Linked DNA regions of Homo sapiens: all the other regions are linked to region 3. The links are contacts of gene promoters, found by promoter capture Hi-C in blood cells and fetal thymus (Javierre and others, 2016). All regions are on one chromosome and are shown on one strand. The core of a region is centred on a gene start or on the middle of the fragment in contact, and the rest is flanking DNA. Distances in the headings are between cores, read along the strand shown. Region 1 holds the start of TRV-CAC1-1 (tRNA-Val (anticodon CAC) 1-1). Region 2 overlaps NDUFS2 (NADH:ubiquinone oxidoreductase core subunit S2). Region 3 holds the start of FCRLA (Fc receptor like A).

Region 1 (4,275 bases), core at 623-3,122, 310 kb before region 3:
TTTAAAAATTATACATTAGCAGGCCCGGCCGGGTGTGGTGGCTCACGCCTGTAATCCTAGCACTTTGGGAGGCCAAGGTGGGTTGATCACCTGAGGTCAGAAGTTTGAGACCAGCCTGGCCAACATGGCAAAACCTCGTCTCTACTAAAAATGCAAAAAATAGCCAGGCGAGGTGGTGGGCACCTGTAATCCTAGGAGGCAGAGGTTGCAGTGAGCCGAGATCAATGGTACTCCAGCCTGGGTGACAGAGCAAGACTCCATATCCAAACCAAAAAAAAAAAAAAAAAAGTATATATATATATATATATAGAGAGAGAGAGAGAGAGAGAGAAAGAGAGACAGAGAGAGCAGGCCCTGTTGGTGCATGCCTGTAGTCCTGATACAGGAGGTAGAAAGAAATTATTTAGCCACTGCAGCCTGGGTGACAAAGCAAGACCCTGTCTAAAAAAAAGAAAAAAAAAGCCTTAAAAATATGTACAGGTTGGCCAGGTGCGGTGGCTCACGCCTGTAATCCCCAGCACTTTGGGAGGCCGAGGCGGGTGGATCTCCTGAGGTCAGTAGTTTGAGACCAGCCTGGCCAACATGGCGAAACCCCATCTTTACTAAAAATACAAAAATTAGCCGGGTGTGGTGGTGGGCGCCTGTAATCCCAGGTACTTGGGACGCTGAGGCAGGAGAATTGCTTGAACTCGGGAAGCAAGGTTGCAGTGAGCCGAGATCACGCCATTGCACTCCAGCCTGGATGACAAGAGCGAAACTCTGTCTCAAAAAAAAAAAAAAAAAAAAAGTACAGGTTGAGTATCCTTTATCTAAAATACTTGGGACCAGAATTGTTTCAAATTTTGATTTTTTTCAGATTTTGGAATATTTGCATTATACCCACCCTAGTTGAGTATCTCAAATCTGAAAATCTGTAATCCAAAGTGCTCCAATGAGCATTTCCTTTGATCATCCTGTCAGCACCCAAAAAGGTTAGGATTTTGGAATATTTTGGATTTCAGATTTTCAGATTTGGGATGGTCGACATGTATTTTATATGAATAGTCCAAACAGCCTTCAAATATTTGGGCTTTTTTATTTTTTCTGGGAAATACTAAGAAATTATAATAAGGGAGGAGACCACCCCTTATATTGTCTTATGCCCAATTTCTACCTCCACAGAAAGAAGAAGTAAAAACTAAAAGGCAGAAATGGAATCCACAGGCAGATAGCCCAGCTCTGCGCCTGCGCCTGGTAGTTAAACATCAGCCCCTGACCTAACTGCTTGTGTTATCTATAGATTTCAGACATTGTATGGAAAAGCATCGTGAAAATCCCTGTCCAGTTCTATTCCGTTCTGATTACCGGTGCATGCAGCCCCCAGTCACGTACCCCCTGCTTTCTCAATCTATCACGACCCTCTCACACGGACCCCCTTAGAGCTGTAAGCCCTTAAAAAGGATAGGAATTGCTCACTTGGGGAGCTCGGTTTTTGGAGACGTGAGTCCACCGATGCTCCCAGCTGAAAAAAGCCCTTTCTACAACTCGGTGTCTGAGGGGTTCTTGTCTGTGGCTTGTCCTGCTACAATCATAGCTATGTTAAGGCTTAGCTGACATACAATAAACTGAACATACTTAAAATGTACAAGTTTTGACACGTGTATACACCTGGGAAATTATCACCGCAATTCGGGTCTGATTTACACGTTAGGCACAGTTCATAGGGCCTACTTTTTTTTTTTTTTTGAGACAGATTCTCTCTGTTGCCCAGTCTGGATCTCCGCTCACTACAACCTTCGCCTCTCAGGCTCAAGCGAGTCTCAAGCCTCAGCCTCCGGAGTAGCTGGGATTACAGGCGCAGGCCACCACGCCCGGGTAATTGTTATAGTTTTAGTAGAGACGGGGTTTCGCCATGTTGGCCAGGCTGGTCTCAAATTCCTGGGCTCAAGCGATCCGCTCACCTCAGCCTCCCAGAGTGCTGGGATTAAAGGCGTGAAACACCGCGCCTGGCCAAAAAATGTTTTATTTTAAATTCAAAATGCTGTAATGGAGGCTGGGTGCAGTGGCTTTTTTTACTCAGCATACTTGAGATTCATGTTGTTGTATATGTGAGCAGTTCCGTCCTTTTTTTGGCTGAGTAACATTCCATTGTATGGATCGGTCTTTCACTTGTTGATTGACATTTGGATAGTCTACAGTTTGGGGCTATTACAAATAGAGCTGCTATGAATGTTTGTGTACAGGCGTTTGTATGGGCATATGCTCTATTTACTCTTGGTAAATACCTAGGAGTGGAATGGCTGAGTCATATTGTAGTAGTTTAACGCTTTTAAAAACCCCCAAACTGTTTTCCAAAGTGAATGTACCATTTTACATTCCCAACAGCAGTGAATGAGTGTTCCGGTTTCTCCACATCCTTGCCAACTTGGTATGGTCAGTCTTTTAAATTTTAGACATTCTGATATGTGTGTAGTGGTATCTCATTGTGTTTTAAATTTGCGTTTCCCTAATGATTAATGACGTTGGACATCTTTCCATGTGATTATTTGCAATCCACATATCTTTTTTTTTTTTTTGAGATGGAGTCTCGCTCTGTAGCCCAGGCTGGAGTGCAGTGGCGCGATCTCAGCTCACTGCAACCTCCGCCTCCCTGGTTCAAGCAATTCTCCTGCCTCAGCCTCCTGAATAGCTGGGATTACAGGCACCCGCCACCACGCCCAGCTAATTTTTATATTTTTAGTGGAGACGGGGTTTCACCATCTTGGTCAGGCTGGTCTGGAACACCCTGACCTCGTGATCCACCCACCTCAGCCTCCCAAAGTGCTGGGATTACAGGCGTGAGCCACCGCGCCCAGCCCCATATATCTTTTTTTTAATCAAGTGTCTGTTCAAATTGTTTGTCCTCCTTTTAGGAGAATTGTGAAAATCTTTTAATTAAAAATGTACATTCTTTCCACCTGATTTAGAACCTAAAAATCTTGAAAGGAAAGAGAAAGAACTAACATTTTCGTGACTGAGAACTGGATGGTGACAAATGAGAAAATAAACACAGTAAAGACAAGTTTGGGGGGGTGACAGAGCAGAGCGAGTTGTGATCCCCGCTCCGTCACCACGTTCGTTTCGTTCCTCTGGACTACTGAGTTAATGATACCGGCAATCAGCGCAAAGCGAGATAATCACCAGCGCACTCTTGGATCTGTATACAGGTTTGTAAACTATGTGGAGGAAACCGACCCATCGCAGTCTCGGCCGAAGAGGCCGGAGCCGGAGCCAGAGCCAGAGCCTGAGCAGGGTCTGAAAAAAGGACCGGCCGTTCAGGACTAGGCCCTGAACTACAACTTGCTCCTCAGGGGTCCGGGTCGGAAGTGACGACTTCATTCACTGAGCAGCCATTTCCGGTTCCCAGTGTGTCCGAAGTTCCTTCTGGGTGTCAGAAAAGACACAAAAACTGACAGGGCGGAACCGCGACACGGTGCCTGATGATATCAAAAGGTCTCACGGCTCCGGAGGGACCCAGTCGCCCACAGCCGCCAGGGGCGCCGCCGGCTCCGAGCCCGTTGTCGAGAGCCGCTCGGCTGCTGGGGTCTGCCCTTCAGTCCTTCCAACTCTCCTCGGACCTAGAGTTCCGGGATCTCACTGCGATCTGGGCGAATTCTTACGTAGAATTCGAAAGGATATGGGGAAGGAAAAAAACAAAAACGGGAACCACTTTGTTTCCGCCCGGTTTCGAACCGGGGACCTTTCGCGTGTGAGGCGAACGTGATAACCACTACACTACGGAAACCAGGCGGTGGCAGGTTTTCCACAAATGACTCTGAAAAGTCAGAGGCTCACCACTGTGTCTCTGACCCACGAGAAAAGTACCCGGGCGGGCCACCCACAGCTTCGGGATCGGGGCGCGCAGGGAAGTAGCCAGCAAAGCAGGTAAGTCCCGGGCTGCTCGCGGCGGGGTCATGACTGAGGGCACAGGGGTGAACTCCATGGTGCTTCCTCAGGAAACTTCCGGCGCAGTCAGGGCTGCAGCCAGAGCCCGGAGATAGTTGGGCAGGGCTCCAGGCGTCCCCGAATGCTCGTCGTGGAGTTTTCCTGATCCTGTCGGGTCCCTAAGGAACGCTTGGCGGGGAGCGTGGACGCCCTGGGGCCAGGCCACCGCGGTCACTGAGAGCCACCCCCCCGGAAACTGGAGAAAAACGGAGTAGAAGAGACCTAGGGGACAGACTTGGCCGGGTCAAGGGAAACCAGCTCATATTTGGAACAAAATACGCCTTATGTTTGCCCAGCACTGAATTTAGAAGC
Region 2 (4,128 bases), core at 475-2,974, 500 kb before region 3:
GGCTGTCCCAGCTAGTAGCGTCTTAGCTCCACCCTCTTCCTGGAAGCTGAAGCTGGTTCAGCAGACAGCTAGGACTTGGCTTTTTGGCATTCTGGAGGAAGGACCATTTCTACCTGATGCTCTGTCTTCCTTAAATACCTCACTCTGGCCGGGCTCACGCCTGTAATCCCAGCACTTTGGGAGGTCGAAGCAGGTGGATTACTTGAGGTCAGGAGTTTGAGACCAGCCTGGCCAACAAGGTGAAACCCCATCTCTACTAAAAATACAAAAATTAGCCAGACGTGGTGGTGTGCGCCTGTAGGAGAATCACTTGAACCTGGGAGGCAGAGGTTGCAGTGAGCCAAGATGGTGCTACTGCACTCCAGCGCCTGGGCAACAGAGCAAGACTGTGTCTCAAAAAAAAAAAAGATTAAAAAAAAAAACCCTCCCAGATACTCTTAAGACTGATTGCCTTTCTCCTTCAGTATCTGAAGTTTTTTGTTTGTTTTGTTTTTTTCCCTACGGAGTCTCGCTCTGTCGCCCAGGCTGGAGTGCAGTGGCGTGATCTTGGCTCACTGCAACCTCTGCCTCCCGAGTTTAAGCAATTCTGTTTCAGCCCCCAGAGTAGCCAGGATTATAGGCACGCACCACCATGCCTGGCTAATTTTTTTTTTTTTTTTTTTTTTTTTGAGACGGAGTTTCACTCTTGTTGCCCAGGCTGGAGTGCAATAGTGTGATCTTGGCTCACTGCAAACTCCACCTCCCAGGTTCAAGCGAGTCTCGTTCCTCAGCCTCCCAAATAGCTGGGATTACAGGTACTCACCACCACGCCCAGCTAATTTCTATATTTTTAGTAGAGATGGGGTTTCACCATGTTGGCCAGGCTGGTCTCAAACTCCTGACCTCATGAGCCACCCTGACTTGGCCTCCCAAAGTGCTGGGATTACAGGTGTGAGCCACCGCGCCTGACCAGTATGTCAGTTTTTTAAATTTTTATTATTTTTTGAGATGGAGTTTTGCTCTTGTTGCCTAGGCTAGAATGCAGTGGCATAGTCTTGTCTCACTGCAACCTCTGCTTCCTGGGTTCAAGTGATTTTCCTGCCTCAGCCTCCCAAGTAGCTGGGATTACAGGCATGCACCACCACGCCCTGCTAATTTTGTATTTTTAGTAGAGAAGGGGTTTCTCCATGTTGGTCAGGCTGGTCTCAAACTCCTGACCTCAGGTGATCTACCCGCCTCGGCCTCCCAAAGTGTTGGGATTACAGGCGTGAGCCACGTGCCCGGCCAAGGACTCTTGACAGTGGTATCCTGGAGCTAGCTCATACGGGCTTGCAAGAGTGCAGTTGTTAAATTTTCAGGAGTTTTGTGAGCCAGTTGTTGAACATAGCCATTGTCAGAAATTAATTTATATAAGCTTATGATTTAATACATTATATTAAAAGCAAAGGTAAGATTAAATATTCAAAGCTCATCACTTCATTATTTTACCACATTTTACTATGCTCTGCCTTTGAGGTATTTGCTTTGAATGTGTCTGTATGGTGGAAATACTGTATAATGGTGTGGTATTCTTCCCAATGCTGCATTCAGTTACATGATATTGGTAACTTAAAATTGGCCATTGTGGGAGTATTTTTACCATGGAAATTGGCAAACATGACAAATCAGAGTCCTCCCTCACTTTGGAGAGCCAGTTTTTAAACATTTACTAGAATACTACTGGTTTTTGGGATATTTTTACCTGCCTTGTTGGGGCTCCTGAGACTAGAAAGGCTTATACAGCACCAACTTCTGGTGCCGACTGAGAGCAAGGCTTCAGGCAGCCAGACTGTGGGCTCCTGAGCCTGTTAGATGTGACCCACATTCCTCCCTCTTCCCAGGCCCTTCCATACTTTGACCGGCTAGACTATGTGTCCATGATGTGTAACGAACAGGCCTATTCTCTAGCTGTGGAGAAGTTGCTAAACATCCGGCCTCCTCCTCGGGCACAGTGGATCCGAGGTATGTCCCCCCAACTTTTTCTGTGGCCCACTGTGAGCATAGCATAGTGCCTTTTCCACCACTTCCCCGTTGAACCCAAGCTTAGTGTTCAGACCCCAGGCTCTGCCCAGACCTCTCTGTCCGCCTCAGTGCTTGGCTCCTATATCCTGTCTTCTCCTTGTCTTCACAGTGCTGTTTGGAGAAATCACACGTTTGTTGAACCACATCATGGCTGTGACCACACATGCCCTGGACCTTGGGGCCATGACCCCTTTCTTCTGGCTGTTTGAAGAAAGGGAGAAGGTAAGAGTGGGAGGAAAGGATAGGAATAGGGAAGGAAGTGCAGGAAGTAGAGAAGGTATAAAGGAGACAGGAGATTAAAAGAAGAGAGAGAACATGGGAGAACATTTAGAGGGGGAAGGTATGTTTAACTTGGGTTATATTTGTAGAAACTATATCATGAGGGGTTGGTTGGGCACAAGAAGGCAGAAAGTGGGGGAGTAGGCCATCATAGGACCTGGGGGCCTGGGACTTTGACACTAATTCCCAGCACGTTCTATGAAGATGTTTGAGTTCTACGAGCGAGTGTCTGGAGCCCGAATGCATGCTGCTTATATCCGGCCAGGAGGAGTGCACCAGGTGAGCAGGTCCCCGGCTTCCCCAAATGTCCAGCCCAGGCCTATTTTCCCTGTGGCCACTGGAGGGCAGTGCTGGATGATGGAAACTCCAAACCTGTATCGCTGGGGGAGGGGGTGCTGAGAGGGCTCTCCTTAGTGAAGGCTATGCCACATTCAGTAGCACTTCCGTTTGGCTTCTAGGACCTACCCCTTGGGCTTATGGATGACATTTATCAGTTTTCTAAGAACTTCTCTCTTCGGCTTGATGAGTTGGAGGAGGTAAGCTAGGAGTCAATGGGAAAAATCTCTCCCCCACAAGAAGGGCTAGAGAAATACAGAGATATTTGAAGAGTGTGAGGAAGAGTATTAACACACCAGTTTTCTTGATCAATAGTTGCTGACCAACAATAGGATCTGGCGAAATCGGACAATTGACATTGGGGTTGTAACAGCAGAAGAAGCACTTAACTATGGTTTTAGGTGAGGGGAATACAACTTCTCTCCGTAGGAGTGGGGGTGGGAGTGGGGGAGTTCCAGCCTAATATCTTGTCTTTGAAGACTTGTTGGCATCCTCCTAGTCATACCCTGAATGTGAAGGATCAACAAGGGAGGCTAAGGAAGAAGGAGCCTCCTTACTTAGTTTGTGGAGAGTGGCCCTTATTCCCATTATGCTCTCCACAGTGGAGTGATGCTTCGGGGCTCAGGCATCCAGTGGGACCTGCGGAAGACCCAGCCCTATGATGTTTACGACCAGGTTGAGTTTGATGTTCCTGTTGGTTCTCGAGGGGACTGCTATGATAGGTAAGGCCCCAATCCTTTCTTGGCTGATATTCCAGCTAGTTTCCCCTGCCTCACTCTTCTCTTTGCCACTTCCTTCTTTACCCTACTTCTCAGTGTCTGTGGGAGCTCTTGTGTGTGTTAGACGAGGTTGCTCTCAAAACACTTTCACATATATGGAATCTTACTTATTTTTTTCTTTTTTGAGACGGAGTTTTGCTCTTGTTGCCCAGGTTGGAATGCAATGGTGCAATCTCGGCTCACTGCAACCTCCGCCTCCTGGGTTCAAGTGATTCTCCTGCCTCAGCCTCCTGAGTAGCTGGGATTACAGGCATGAGCCACCACGCTCAGCTAATTTATGTATTTTTAGTAGAGACGGGATTTCTCCATGTTGGTCAGGCTGGTCTCAAGCTCCTGACCTCAGGTGATCTACCCGCCTCGGCCTCCAAAATTGTTGGGATTATAGGCGTGAGCCACCACACCCGGCCTATGGCATTCTTTTTATCTTTACATTATCCTTGTCTTAGATGGAGCTAGCTTTGGCTGCATTTTATAGCTGAGAAAGCTGAGGCATAAAAGTTAGGGATTAGCTGGGATTATTCTTCAGGAGTGGTCGAGACTAGAATCCTCCTGATCCAGTGTTCTTTCTAGTAGATCCTAAGCTTCAGATTCTCCTCCTGGGCCAGGCACAGTGGCTCATGTGTGTAATCCCAGCATTTTGGGAGTCCAAGGTGGGTGGATCACTTGAGGTCAGGAATTCAAGACCAGCCTGGCC
Region 3 (3,910 bases), core at 303-2,802:
AACCACCCCTGGACTCCCTGGGGCCACCTGCACAGAAGCGTATGCCTCTCGATAATGGAAATTTTATTCTAAATGCTTATTTTAGACTCAGAAAGATCCACTCTCTTATGCCCGTGTGGTTGATATGTCTGCTCTGACCTGTGGTTTTTGCACAGTTGAAGGGTCATACTGTCCCTCTCTCTGCCTTCAAGGAGGACCAAACTACCTTCCCCCATTTCTCTCTCTCTCTTTTTTTTTTTTTTTGTGAGATGGAGTCTCGCTCTGTCACCCACACTAGAGTGCAGTGGTGCAATCTTGGCTCACTGCAACTTCTGCCTCCTGGGTTCAAATGATACTCATGCCTCAGCCTCTGAAGTAACTGGGACTACAGCCATGCACCACCATGCCCATCTAATTTTTTTTTTTTTTTTTCAGTAGAGATGGGGTTTCACCATACTGGCCAGGCTGGTCTTGAACTCCTGACCTCCAGTCCAGTGATCCGCCCACCCTGGCCTCCCAAAGTGCTGGGATTACAGAGGCATGAGCCACAGTGCCTGGCCTACCTTACCCCATTTCTGATGGCTCATTTCATCTCCAAATAACCTACTGGAGGCCTGGTGGGTGTTATGATGACAGAAAGGGGAGGAATGTGGCCACTGTGAAAAGACACATGGGCCCTACCATTAAGTAGGCCTCAAACAAATAGCAAACATTCAGAGGCAGGGACAATGGTTCCCAGGAGGCCATCTGGAACGGAAGGGAGAGGCTGTAGCCTCTATATTGCTCCTATTCCTGAGTCTCCTCAGGTTTCTCAAGATATCGGATGCCTCCTATCTCTAATTTCCTCAGGATCAGTGGCCTGAGCTTTGGCTATGAGCCTAAGCCCTGAGCTGACTGCTGGATCCTCTGGGAATAGATTTTCTTTTTCCTCTACTCTTTCCCAGTGGATTCTCCCTGCCTTGTACTCATATTTCCACTGAGACTGAGCAGACTTAGTCATGCTCCAGAAATAGAGAGCTGACACGAGTCTAGAGAAATTTGCATGCAAATTTGTGTGGGCTTTGGATAGTCAGAGCCTACTAGAGACTAATCTGATATCTAACTTGGTGCCGTGACTAATCTTCCTTCTCTGTCTCGCTACCTTCTAGTCACTAGAAACATATAAGTGTTGGAATGGGCAGGACATTTGAATTCTCATCATTGATTCTCCAGTGATTTTCTATTGGCCTTCAAACAACATCCCACCTTCTGTCCCCAGTTGCATCACCAGTGAAAAGGGTGGTTGTTGCACTGACCTTTCCCAGAGTGTACATGAAGGCCAGCTGGCTATCAGACAATGACATGCTTTGACAGGCCCCTGAGCTCTGTGAGTAAATTCTTGAACAGCTGAGAGTGCTACCATTTTGTCATAGCCCTAAGGGTGCAGATGATGCTGAAAGCGTGTTGGCCAAATCTGAATGATGAAAGCCAATTACAAACTAGAAAATGAAAACAGACCCCAGATGCAAGGAGATGAGACAGTTAAATTTACTTCCTCTTTTCTAATCTGAGAGGTTTCATGTTGAAGAAAATCAGTGTTGGGGTTGCAGGAGACCTAAACACAGTCACCATGAAGCTGGGCTGTGTCCTCATGGCCTGGGCCCTCTACCTTTCCCTTGGTGTGCTCTGGGTGGCCCAGATGCTACTGGGTAAGTAAAATATTTGAATATTGGTGTGGGAATGGAGCTTTGCTTACCTTGGGAGAAAGGACCAGAAGGAAAGAAACATGGACTAATTCTGGCCCTCCAAAGAAGCAGTATTCAGGTGGAATAAGAAGGGTAGGTATAAGAAAGTTTGGTGTACAGGATTGAATTACTTTCTGAATATAAAAATCTTCCATCCTGAAAGTCCCCTCTGATCATGATATCCTCTCTAGCTCTAATCTCAACTCTTTTCTTTCACTTGTGAGACAAGTTTTCTTAAAAGAATAGTTTGCACTTGCTATCTCCACTTCCTCACTTCTCACACGCTCCTCAATGCTTGCAGCCTGGCTTCCACTGGAATTGGTTTTGTCTAGGGCACAACGATCTCTATATTGACTGGGTTATGGCATGCTTTTCAGTTCATATCCTGCTGGACTTCTCTGCTGCACTGGGCTCTGTTGATCACTTACTCCTTCTTGCATTCTCTACTACCCTGGCTTCCATGGCACCATTTTCTCCTTGTACTACATGGACTTCTCTTGATCCCTTAATAGCTTCTCTTCTCTTCCCCTTAAACACTAGTGTTCTCTATAGTTATAGCCTTGCCTCTGTACTCCTCTTTCTTTACACAATCTCCTTCATGAGCTTATTTGTCTGTTTAATTTTTGCCACTATAACTCTGTATTTAAGAGTCCCAAATCATATCCCCAACCCTAACCATGCTTTTGAGCTTCACATTCAAATATCAAGCTTCATACCAGACATATCTACCTACATATCTCACAAGTGTCTCTGCACCATGTGACTAGAGTTGAACTTATCTGTCCTTTTGGCCCCTGCCTCATCTAATTCATTTTCCACTTTCTGATCTCAGCTAATGACACCAGCATCTACCCTTACAAGGCCATAAACCTCAGAAACAACCCAGACTCTTCCTTCTTTTTCATTCTCTAAATCTGATCAATCATTAGGTTTGGCCAATTTTACCTTCTAAATTGTTCATAGAAGCAGTCCCTTGCCTGGATCATCACTAATGTCTTAGGACAAGCCCTCATCCTCTATGACTTGGGCTATTCCAGTAAATTCCTAACTAATCTCCTCGTCCAAACCTTGTGTTCTTGAAATGAATTCTGTACCCTGCAGACAGAGTAATTTCTAAAACTCAAGTTTACCAGCCCAAATTCTTTATCATGGCACAAAAGGCCAAGCAGCCTCTACTTTTACCCTCTCAGCCTTGTAACTTATGCTCTAATAAATCTCAATCAGTTCATATTTACATACTCACACACCAGACTCTTGCCTGTCTCTAAGGCTTTGCTTATACCACTATCTCTACCTGAAATGAGTTCTTTCCATGGCACCCTACTCTCCTTCTCCTTGCAAATGTGTAGGTACCCCTAAAGACTCAGCTTAAATGGTATCTTTTCCAGGTAGCTTTTCTTGAATGCTTCTTTCTGCTCCAATGGCTGCTTGCGATACATTTTTCTTATTATAATATTTTCCTACTTATGCTGAAATAATATTTTCATCTACCTGTGTCTTCCACTAAATTGAGAGCTATTTGTGGGTAGTGACAATGTTTTTTTGTTTTTGTCTTGTGATAAGAACTGCAGACTTGGAATCAGATACTCCTGTTTCAAGCCCCTCTTCTATTTACCAGCTCTATGTCACTTTAGAAAATCACTTTTTCTATTTCTGGTTCAGTTTTCTCATTTGTAGAATGAAAATAATAATACCTACCACCTAAGGTTTATTGAGTGAGTTCCCAGTAACCCAACAAGATTTTATTTTATTTTATTTTATGTTTTGAGACAGGGTCTCGCTCTGCCACCCAGGCTGGAGTGCAGTGGTGCAATCACTGCTCACTGCAACCTTGACCTCTTGGGCTTAAGCAATCGTCCTATCTCAGCCTCCCAAGTAGCTGGGACCACAGGCAAGTGCCACCAGGCCTGGCCAATTTTTTAAAAAATTATTTGTTGAGACAGGGTCTCTCTATGTTCCCCAGGCTGGTCTCAAACTCCTGGGCTCAAGGGATCCTCCCACCTCAACCTCCCAAAGTGCTGTGATTATAAGCATGAGCCACCACGCCTGGATAAGATTTTATTTTTAAAAAGAAAAAATGGAGAGGAGGCAGAGCACAGATGAGTGACAGTGGAGGAACTGAAAAGAGGTAGCATTACAGTGAAGGGAGCGGAGAAAGGATGGAAAGAAAACACCTGGTACTGATGTGATGAGAATTAGGAAGTAGG

The links. The method cuts DNA at HindIII sites, captures the fragments that hold promoters and counts their contacts. A CHiCAGO score of 5 or more calls a contact.
Region 1: a contact is called between a fragment that was not itself captured here and the fragment with the promoter of FCRLA in region 3, in 1 of 17 cell types (total B cells). The highest score is 5.7, in total B cells.
Region 2: a fragment that was not itself captured here is called in contact with the fragment with the promoter of FCRLA in region 3 in 1 of 17 cell types (naive B cells); the score reaches 5.7 in naive B cells.

The regions. Positions count from the first base shown.
Region 1 is chr1:161,396,010-161,400,284 of GRCh38, forward strand. TRV-CAC1-1 (tRNA-Val (anticodon CAC) 1-1) reads right to left here and starts at 3,763; the gene lies at 3,691-3,763. RefSeq lists enhancers at 3,177-3,316, 3,324-3,923, 3,924-4,275 and a silencer at 3,657-3,736. The HindIII fragment of the contact is 5,595 bases long and covers 1-4,275 here.
Region 2 is chr1:161,207,334-161,211,461 of GRCh38, forward strand. NDUFS2 (NADH:ubiquinone oxidoreductase core subunit S2) reads left to right here. Exons shown (of 14, transcript NM_001377299.1): 4 at 1,860-1,980; 5 at 2,150-2,262; 6 at 2,524-2,598; 7 at 2,778-2,855; 8 at 2,971-3,056; 9 at 3,258-3,377. Among named protein-coding and RNA genes, the nearest start is that of FCER1G, 5.9 kb to the right of the region's middle. The HindIII fragment of the contact is 667 bases long and covers 1,392-2,058 here.
Region 3 is chr1:161,705,677-161,709,586 of GRCh38, forward strand. FCRLA (Fc receptor like A) reads left to right here and starts at 1,553. Exons shown (of 5, transcript NM_032738.4): 1 at 1,553-1,667. The coding sequence starts at 1,589. RefSeq lists enhancers at 89-308, 1,849-2,028. The HindIII fragment of the contact is 3,109 bases long and covers 1-2,409 here.